Regions from separate parts of the Homo sapiens genome. Here region 2 is linked to region 1. Evidence: promoter capture Hi-C in 16 types of primary human blood cells and fetal thymus (Javierre and others, 2016). All regions are on one chromosome and are shown on one strand. Each heading gives the region's core, a stretch centred on a gene start or on the middle of the fragment in contact. The rest is flanking DNA. Distances are from core to core; before and after follow the strand shown.

What was found. The method cuts DNA at HindIII sites, captures the fragments that hold promoters and counts their contacts. A CHiCAGO score of 5 or more calls a contact.
Region 2: a contact is called between the fragment with the promoter of CCDC92 here and the fragment with the promoter of DHX37 in region 1, in 1 of 17 cell types (total B cells). The highest score is 6.6, in total B cells.

Annotation. Positions count from the first base shown.
Region 1 is chr12:124,987,742-124,991,074 of GRCh38, forward strand. DHX37 (DEAH-box helicase 37) reads right to left here and starts at 1,390. Exons shown (of 27, transcript NM_032656.4): 1 at 1,176-1,390. The coding sequence starts at 1,281. RefSeq lists a silencer at 1,094-1,303. The HindIII fragment of the contact is 16,586 bases long and covers 1-3,333 here.
Region 2 is chr12:123,970,837-123,974,162 of GRCh38, forward strand. It overlaps CCDC92 (coiled-coil domain containing 92), which reads right to left and starts at 1,995. Exons shown (of 5, transcript NM_025140.3): 1 at 1,693-1,995. ZNF664-RFLNA (ZNF664-RFLNA readthrough) reads left to right here and starts at 2,379. Exons shown (of 5, transcript NM_001347902.2): 1 at 2,379-2,467; 2 at 3,050-3,184. It overlaps ZNF664 (zinc finger protein 664), which reads left to right and starts at 2,379. Exons shown (of 5, transcript NM_152437.3): 1 at 2,379-2,516; 2 at 3,050-3,184. RefSeq lists enhancers at 742-1,479, 1,480-2,217 and silencers at 1,438-1,557, 1,588-2,457, 2,528-2,607, 2,718-2,947. The HindIII fragment of the contact is 3,963 bases long and covers 1,023-3,326 here.

The DNA.
Region 1 (3,333 bases), core at 140-2,639:
TTTTAGCTTTAGGAACATCTGTATTCTATTCACTGGTTGAGCATCCCTAATCTAAAAATTTGAAATCTGGAATGCTCCAATGAGCATTTCCTTAAGTGTCATGTTGACACTCAAAAACTTTTGAATTTTGGAGTATTTTGGATTAAGGCTGCTCAACGTGTGCTACTGGTCCCATTCTGCAGATGTGAAAACGAAGGCACAGAGATGTTAGGGGATCTGCCTCAACTCCCAGCCTGTCTGTGGAACTTTTTTTTTTTTTTTTTTTTTTTTGAGATGGAGTCTCGCTCTCTCACCCAGGCTAGAGTACAGTGGTGCGATCTTGGCTCACTGCAACCTCCGTATCCTGGGTTCAAGCCATTCTCCTGCCTCAGCCTCCCAAGTAGCTGGGACTACAGGTGCCCACCACCACGCCTCCTCTGCTCTAAATGCTCCCATGGCTGCCCTCTCCCGTAGAGAAAAAGCCCCAGTCCTCGCCAAGACTGCAGTCCAGGCCCGACCTGCCCTGGCCCCCTGTTTTTTCTCTCATCTCCAGGCAGCCACTCAGGTCTCCTTCAGATCTTGACTCTAACAGAGTGATGTCTTCTCCAGCAACTCTATGGGATGCTGCAACCCACCCAATGGCCTCTTCTGTTTTATCTGCTCACTATAGCCGCATAAATTTCTATATGTTTATTCTTTGCCTGTCTCCTCCTATACAGCAGGTAAACTCAGGGATTTTCTAAAAATCTCCCTTTCTGCTATGTCTCCAGTGCCTAGAATAGTGCCTGGCATGTAATAAGGGCTACTCCTAAAAAGGGGTCTGAGAGAAATGTCAGCCAGCCTGGAGCTGAGCAGACAAGACTGGGCTGAAAATACACATTTGGGGGTCGCTGGAGATTATAAAGAGATTATAATCGAAGTCATGGGAAGGGATGGAACTACTCCTGTTTTTTTTGCCAAATTCTCCATGTTACTATTTGAGGGCGAGAGAAATCCCGGGTATTCCATATACACTGTTAAAACTAGGCTGTCACTAAGCCCCTCTCCTTTGGATCATCTGGAATGGGGGGACCCATTCCCCCATTCCAGATGATCCATCCCACCCCTCTGGGATCCCCACCCGAGAGTCCTGAAGGCAGGGCACAGGCCGCCCTGGGAAATCTCCGAAATCCAGCCCCGGTCCGGGGATGTCTTACCCTCCAGTTCCAGCTGCACGGGGGGCGGCTCGGGGGGGCCCTTCGAGGGTCCGGGGCCCGCCTGCTGGCGCCCCTTGATGTTGTAGCGCCGGCGCAGCTTCCCCATGGCGACTAGGCCAGGGTGGGCGCTCCAGCGGCCGGACCAGCAGAGCAATCCGAAACCCAGCCCACGTGGGTTCCCAGACCACCAACTCCGGCCGTGAGACTTCCGGGTTGTGTTATCGCGAGAACTGTAACTGACTTTGCCGCTGAGGGGCGGGGTTGCAAGAGAAACCCAGCGAAGAGGAGAGGCGGAGCCGGGCCGGGCAGGGGGCGGGACTATTTAGAGAAGTAGGCGGGGCCTGAGGTCCCAGCGGAGGCCGGAGTTTAAGTCCTGGGCTGTTCTCGCTTGGGGTAGTCTGGGTTTAAATATGAATTATATCTACTGATACTAATTTGGCTTCTTGGGAGTGGAAGTGTTTTGCCACCTTTTAAAATATACCCCGCCCCCAGTACTCCAAACTTCTTCCCCCCAACCCTGGTTTGCGCATCTGTATTTTCTGATATTCCTACAAGAAACGTATTAGTCGTGTACTTTTAAAAAGGCACCAAATATTTCCATCACAGGGATAGATGGAAGATCTAAAAGGAGGCCTCTACGGGCGCGGTGGCTCACGCCTGTAATCCCAGCACTTTTGGAGGCCGAGGCGGGCGGATCACGAGGTCAGGATTTCAAGACCAGCCTGGCCAAGATGGTGAAACCCCCGTCTCTACCAAAAATACAAAAAAAATTTAGCTAGGCCTGGTGGCAGGCGTCTGTAATCCCAGCTACTTGGGAGGCTGAGGCAGAGAATTGATTGAACCCGGGAGGTGGACGTTGCAGTGAGCCGAGACTGCACCACTGCACTTCAGCCTGGGCAACAGAGCTAGACTCTGTCTCAAAAAAAAAAAAATAAAGTTGTCTATTACATAACTTTAAATTCCCATTACCGCATCACATTGTAACACACTGGGAAACAATGCATTATTATTATTATTGAGACAAGGTCTGGCTTTGTTGCCCAGGCTGGAGTGTAGTGGAGCAATCTCGGCTCACTGCAACCTCTGCCTCCCGGGTTTAAACGATTCTCCTGCCTCAGCCTTCCGAGTAGCTGGGACTACAGGTGCCCGCCACCACCCCCAGCTAGTTTTTGTATTTTAGTAGAGACGGAGTTTCACCATGTTGGCCAGGCTGGTCTCAAACTCCTGACCTCGTGATCTGCCTGCCTGGGCCTCCCAAAGTGCTGGGATTACAGGCATGAGCCACCGCGCCCGACTTTTTTTTTTTTTTTTTTAAGAGATGAGATCTCGCCCTGTGGGCCAGGCCAGAGTGCAGTGGTGCAATCACCACTCGCTGCAGCCTTGACCTGTCCTCCCACCTCAGCCTCCTGAGTAGTTATGACTACAGGCACACACCACCACGACGGGCTAATTTTTCTATTTTTTTGTAGAGATGGTGTCTCCCTATGTTGCTTAGACTGGTCTCAAAATTCTGGGCTCAAGGGATCCGTTTGTCTCGGCCTCCCAAAGTGCCGGAATTACAGGCATAAGCCACTGTGAAGGCCTTAATGAATGACGTTTAAAAAAATCATAATTAGCGTATCAAATCTATGGGGTTTTTTGTTTGTTTGCTTGTTTTTGTTTTTTTGAGACAGAACTCTCCCTCTGACGCCCAGGCTGGAGTGTAGTGGAGCAGTCTCGGCTCACTGCAACCTCCACCTCTCGGGTTCAAGCGATTCTCCTGTCTCAGCCTTCCAAGTAGCTGGGATTACAGGCACCCACCAAGATGCCCATCTAATTTTTGTATTTTTAGTAGAGATGGGGTCTCACCATGTTGGCCAGGATGGTCTCAAACTCCTGACATCAAGTGATCGGCCCACCTTGGCCTCTCAAAATGATGAGATTACGGGCCTGAGCCACTGCACCCAGGCTCAAATCTGTGTTTTTATGGATTTTGTTGCTCAGGATGATAGTGATCTAAAGTTTCTTCTTTAAATATGTTTATTTAAATAAATTAAAAGTTTAAGAAACGTTTAAAAAATGTTAAGTAGGTAGTAGTACACTTGCCTATATTTCCTTCTAAAATATAATATATCAGTGAATTACCTTCCAGAAGGTATAGACCATTCTAGACAGCAAG
Region 2 (3,326 bases), core at 745-3,244, 1.0 Mb before region 1:
TTTTAAAAGCATCAACATTTTATTAACGTTAGTATCGTTGCAAAGGCATCCTACCAATTAGGTAATTATGTTGAGATCAATTTATCCAAAGATAATTGGATAAGTTGAGATCAATTTATCCAATTTTGCAATTTATCCAACATGGCAGATGAAAGAGTTATAAACCCAAGATGAATGATTCGTTTTTTAAAGAGTTAATAAAAATATCTAATTTCAAAAAAACCCTATTTGTTAGACCGATGTATTTAAAATGTGTCACAGTAAAAATCTCACACAAATAATTGTCCTGTACTTTAGATCTTAAATGTACCTAAACTAAATTTACTGAGTAATTATAATACGCAGAGGAGTAACAAAACTATTTTAAGATTTTTCAGTGGTGTGTATGGATATGTACGCATACCCGTATATATAATCACGAGTTTTAAAGCCTTCTTCCAAGCATATTTCACATAAGATGAACAGTTAGCCAAAAGAATTACATACATTTCAAAACATCTTTGGAGGTAAAAGCCACTTTAAACGTTAGCATCTTTTTCCTTACAATGCAATAGCGAGAAAATGCATGGGAATTCTTGATGAGCAAAAAAAAAAAAAAAGAAAAGTCGTTTTATCAATACCAATGCTCTTTAAATAAATTTCAAACGTAAAAGTTTTAAAATGGCAATCCTAGTTTTAATACTCTTACAGGTTTCTGGAACTGCGTAATATGTTAAAGTATTACAGCGTGGTAGCTTGCATTTTGTTATAAAACCGACTACTGCAACCTAAGCTACAGAGCGCGGTTATATTTTCTCTCTGGCAGCCTAATTTTCCTTAGTGGACTAGATCGTACTGCTAAATACCAAAACTTGAAATGAAACAATACAGGTCAGCATGAAAACCTAAGTTAGAGAAACTCACTCGCCGTAGCAGACGGCAGCCCAGTAGCCAAGCCTGGAGCTCTGCTGCGTTTGTGCATTCTGCTCCGTTTCACGAATCACAGGCAAATCGTTACTCAGAGTAAACTAAAGCCGCATCAAAGCTTCAGGAAGGGGCTGGCAAGGTAGTGTACTTACGGAAAGGCTACCAGGACGGGAGGCGATACAACTTGTCAGGGAGGGTCTCTAAGGTTCCCCGGGTGGTAACAAGCATTTAAAAAGGCGATGTGGATTCAGACGGCCTCCTCCCCACAGCATCCCAGACAAAGCCGGGCTAGGCCCCGGGGCGCTCCTGGTGCACCTGCAATGCGGATCCCTCGCCCTGCGATCCCACCCCGGGGCAGACAGGAGCGCCCCGGGACCGGCCTCTCCTCCCCCTTGGCACTGGGGTGGGCGCGCGCCGCGGCCGGTCCGCACCCTGGACTGGAGCCCGGGCCGGGGAGCCCCCTCCCCAGAAAGGGCCGGCAGACCCCGCGGGGGCGGGCGCGGGGGTCGCCGAGCCTCAGGGACCCTCTTTCCCCGACTCCGCCGTCTCCCGAGTTGCCTTCGCCCGGGGCCACCCCTGCCCCTGGGGGAGCTAACGTGGCTCCCAAGCCCCGGAGGTGGGGCAGGAGGACCCCGTCCCCCGTCTCCCGGCGGGGAGGGTTTTTAAAGTCTTCGCCACGAACTCCCGTCCCTGCCCGGCCCCTCCGCCCCTGCCCGGCCCCTCCGCCCCCGCCGGCGCTGCCAGGTGAGCGGGGCCGGACTCGACACACCCCGGGCCCCGCCTCACCTGCGGGCGCCGCCGTCGCGTTCCTTCAGGCGGCTGCCCTCTTAGGCTCGGTCCTCCCGGCGGGCGGCGGTGGGGGCCCGTGGCCCATGGGCTGGGCGGGGCGCGGCGGGCGGGGCTGCCTGGGCTCGGGCGCTGCCCGGGCCGGGCCGCCGAGGGAGGTCAGTGGGCACCGCCCGCCCGGCGCATCTCGCCCGCTCCCACCCCAGCGCTAGCCGCGGTGCACCCTGGGAGCGGGGCCGGCGGCGAGGCCTGGCCGCGCTGACCCGGCGGGCTAGGCGCCGGCGCGGCGGCGGGCCTGTGTCTGCCGGGCTGGGCGGGGGCGGCGGGCCGATATTCACTTGGCGAGGCGGGGCTACGCCCCCTTCCGCCCGGCTGTGGCGGGGCAGGGGCGAAGGCCGAGGGGAAGGGAGGGTCGGGCCCGCGGGACGCAGGCGCACAGCTCAGGTGCGGCCGCACTGCGGTTGCCCTGGGTAACGCGGCCCGAGGGAGGGGGGGGCGCGGGGAGGAGCGAGGGAGGCGAGCGGGAGCGCGCGCGCCGGGCGCTGGGGTGGGGGATGGCCGGGCCCGACCGGGCCGGGGCTGGGGGGCGGGGGCGGAGGCGGGCGGTGGGGGCGCGGGCCGGGTGGCCGCGCATGCGTGCGGCCCCCGCTCCCCCGGGGCTTCCCCGGCCTCGTGCGTGCGCACGCGCGCTGTCCCCCGGAGGCGTCTGGGTGTGCGGAGCGCGCGCGCGCGCGGCTCGGAGGCGCACCTGTGAGGTGTCCCTGAGGAGAGGGAGGTGGGTGCGCGGCGCCCGCGGCCTGGGGCGCTGACTCCCCTCACTTGGAGTGAGTTCTCGGCGGCCGGGCTGCAGTCTTTCTTTCTTTCCCGGAGGGAGGCGGGGGCCGGGGGCCAGGGAGCGGGCTGGGGGTGGGAAGGAGGTGGAGTGGCTTAAAGAAAAGAAAAACAACCCATCCCGGAGGATGGGCCTCGGGATGGCGGGGAAGGTCAGAGCGGCTCCGCGCAGCCTGGCGGGTCCCGGGCTGAGAAGCCGCCCCTCGGGCCTCGGGCGGTCGGCCGCGGGCCCGCAGTGCGGGGGAGCGGGGCCGGGGGGCGCAGATGGCGGCCGGTGCGAGCGAGGGCTGGGCAGCGGGCAGGGCGAGGCCGGGCGAGGCCCCTCGGGAGCCGGACTCCCGAGCCAGGCTCCATTGTTGTTGGAGCCGAGGGAAGGGGGAGCGCTGCCGCCCTCGTCGCCCGTGGAGCCGCGTCTTGGAGCCCTTCCAGGCGGGTCCCGGGAGAGGCGGTCATGGCCGCGCCAGGGGACCGGGGAGCCGGGCGGCTGCGGAGGAGCCGGCTGCATGGGGTGCTGTGTGTTTTTCAGGGCGCCCTGCGTCCGGCAGAGGAGGCGAGCATCCCGCTCAGGTGATGAGGAACCCCTCGCGCACCCAGCGCAGAAGGCTGCTGCCGCCGGACGCCTCCATTGTTTGACCACAACAAGGGCCGGATTCTCACCCAGGTAAACCGGCTGCCGGCGCTGTCCACTTCCCTCTGACTCCCGCCTCCGCAGGCGTTCTCACCCCTTCCAGGACTCGACTGCAGTTTTCTCACTGTCCCCGGCTTCTCATGAACTCCGTATACCCCCTCCCAGACATTTTCCC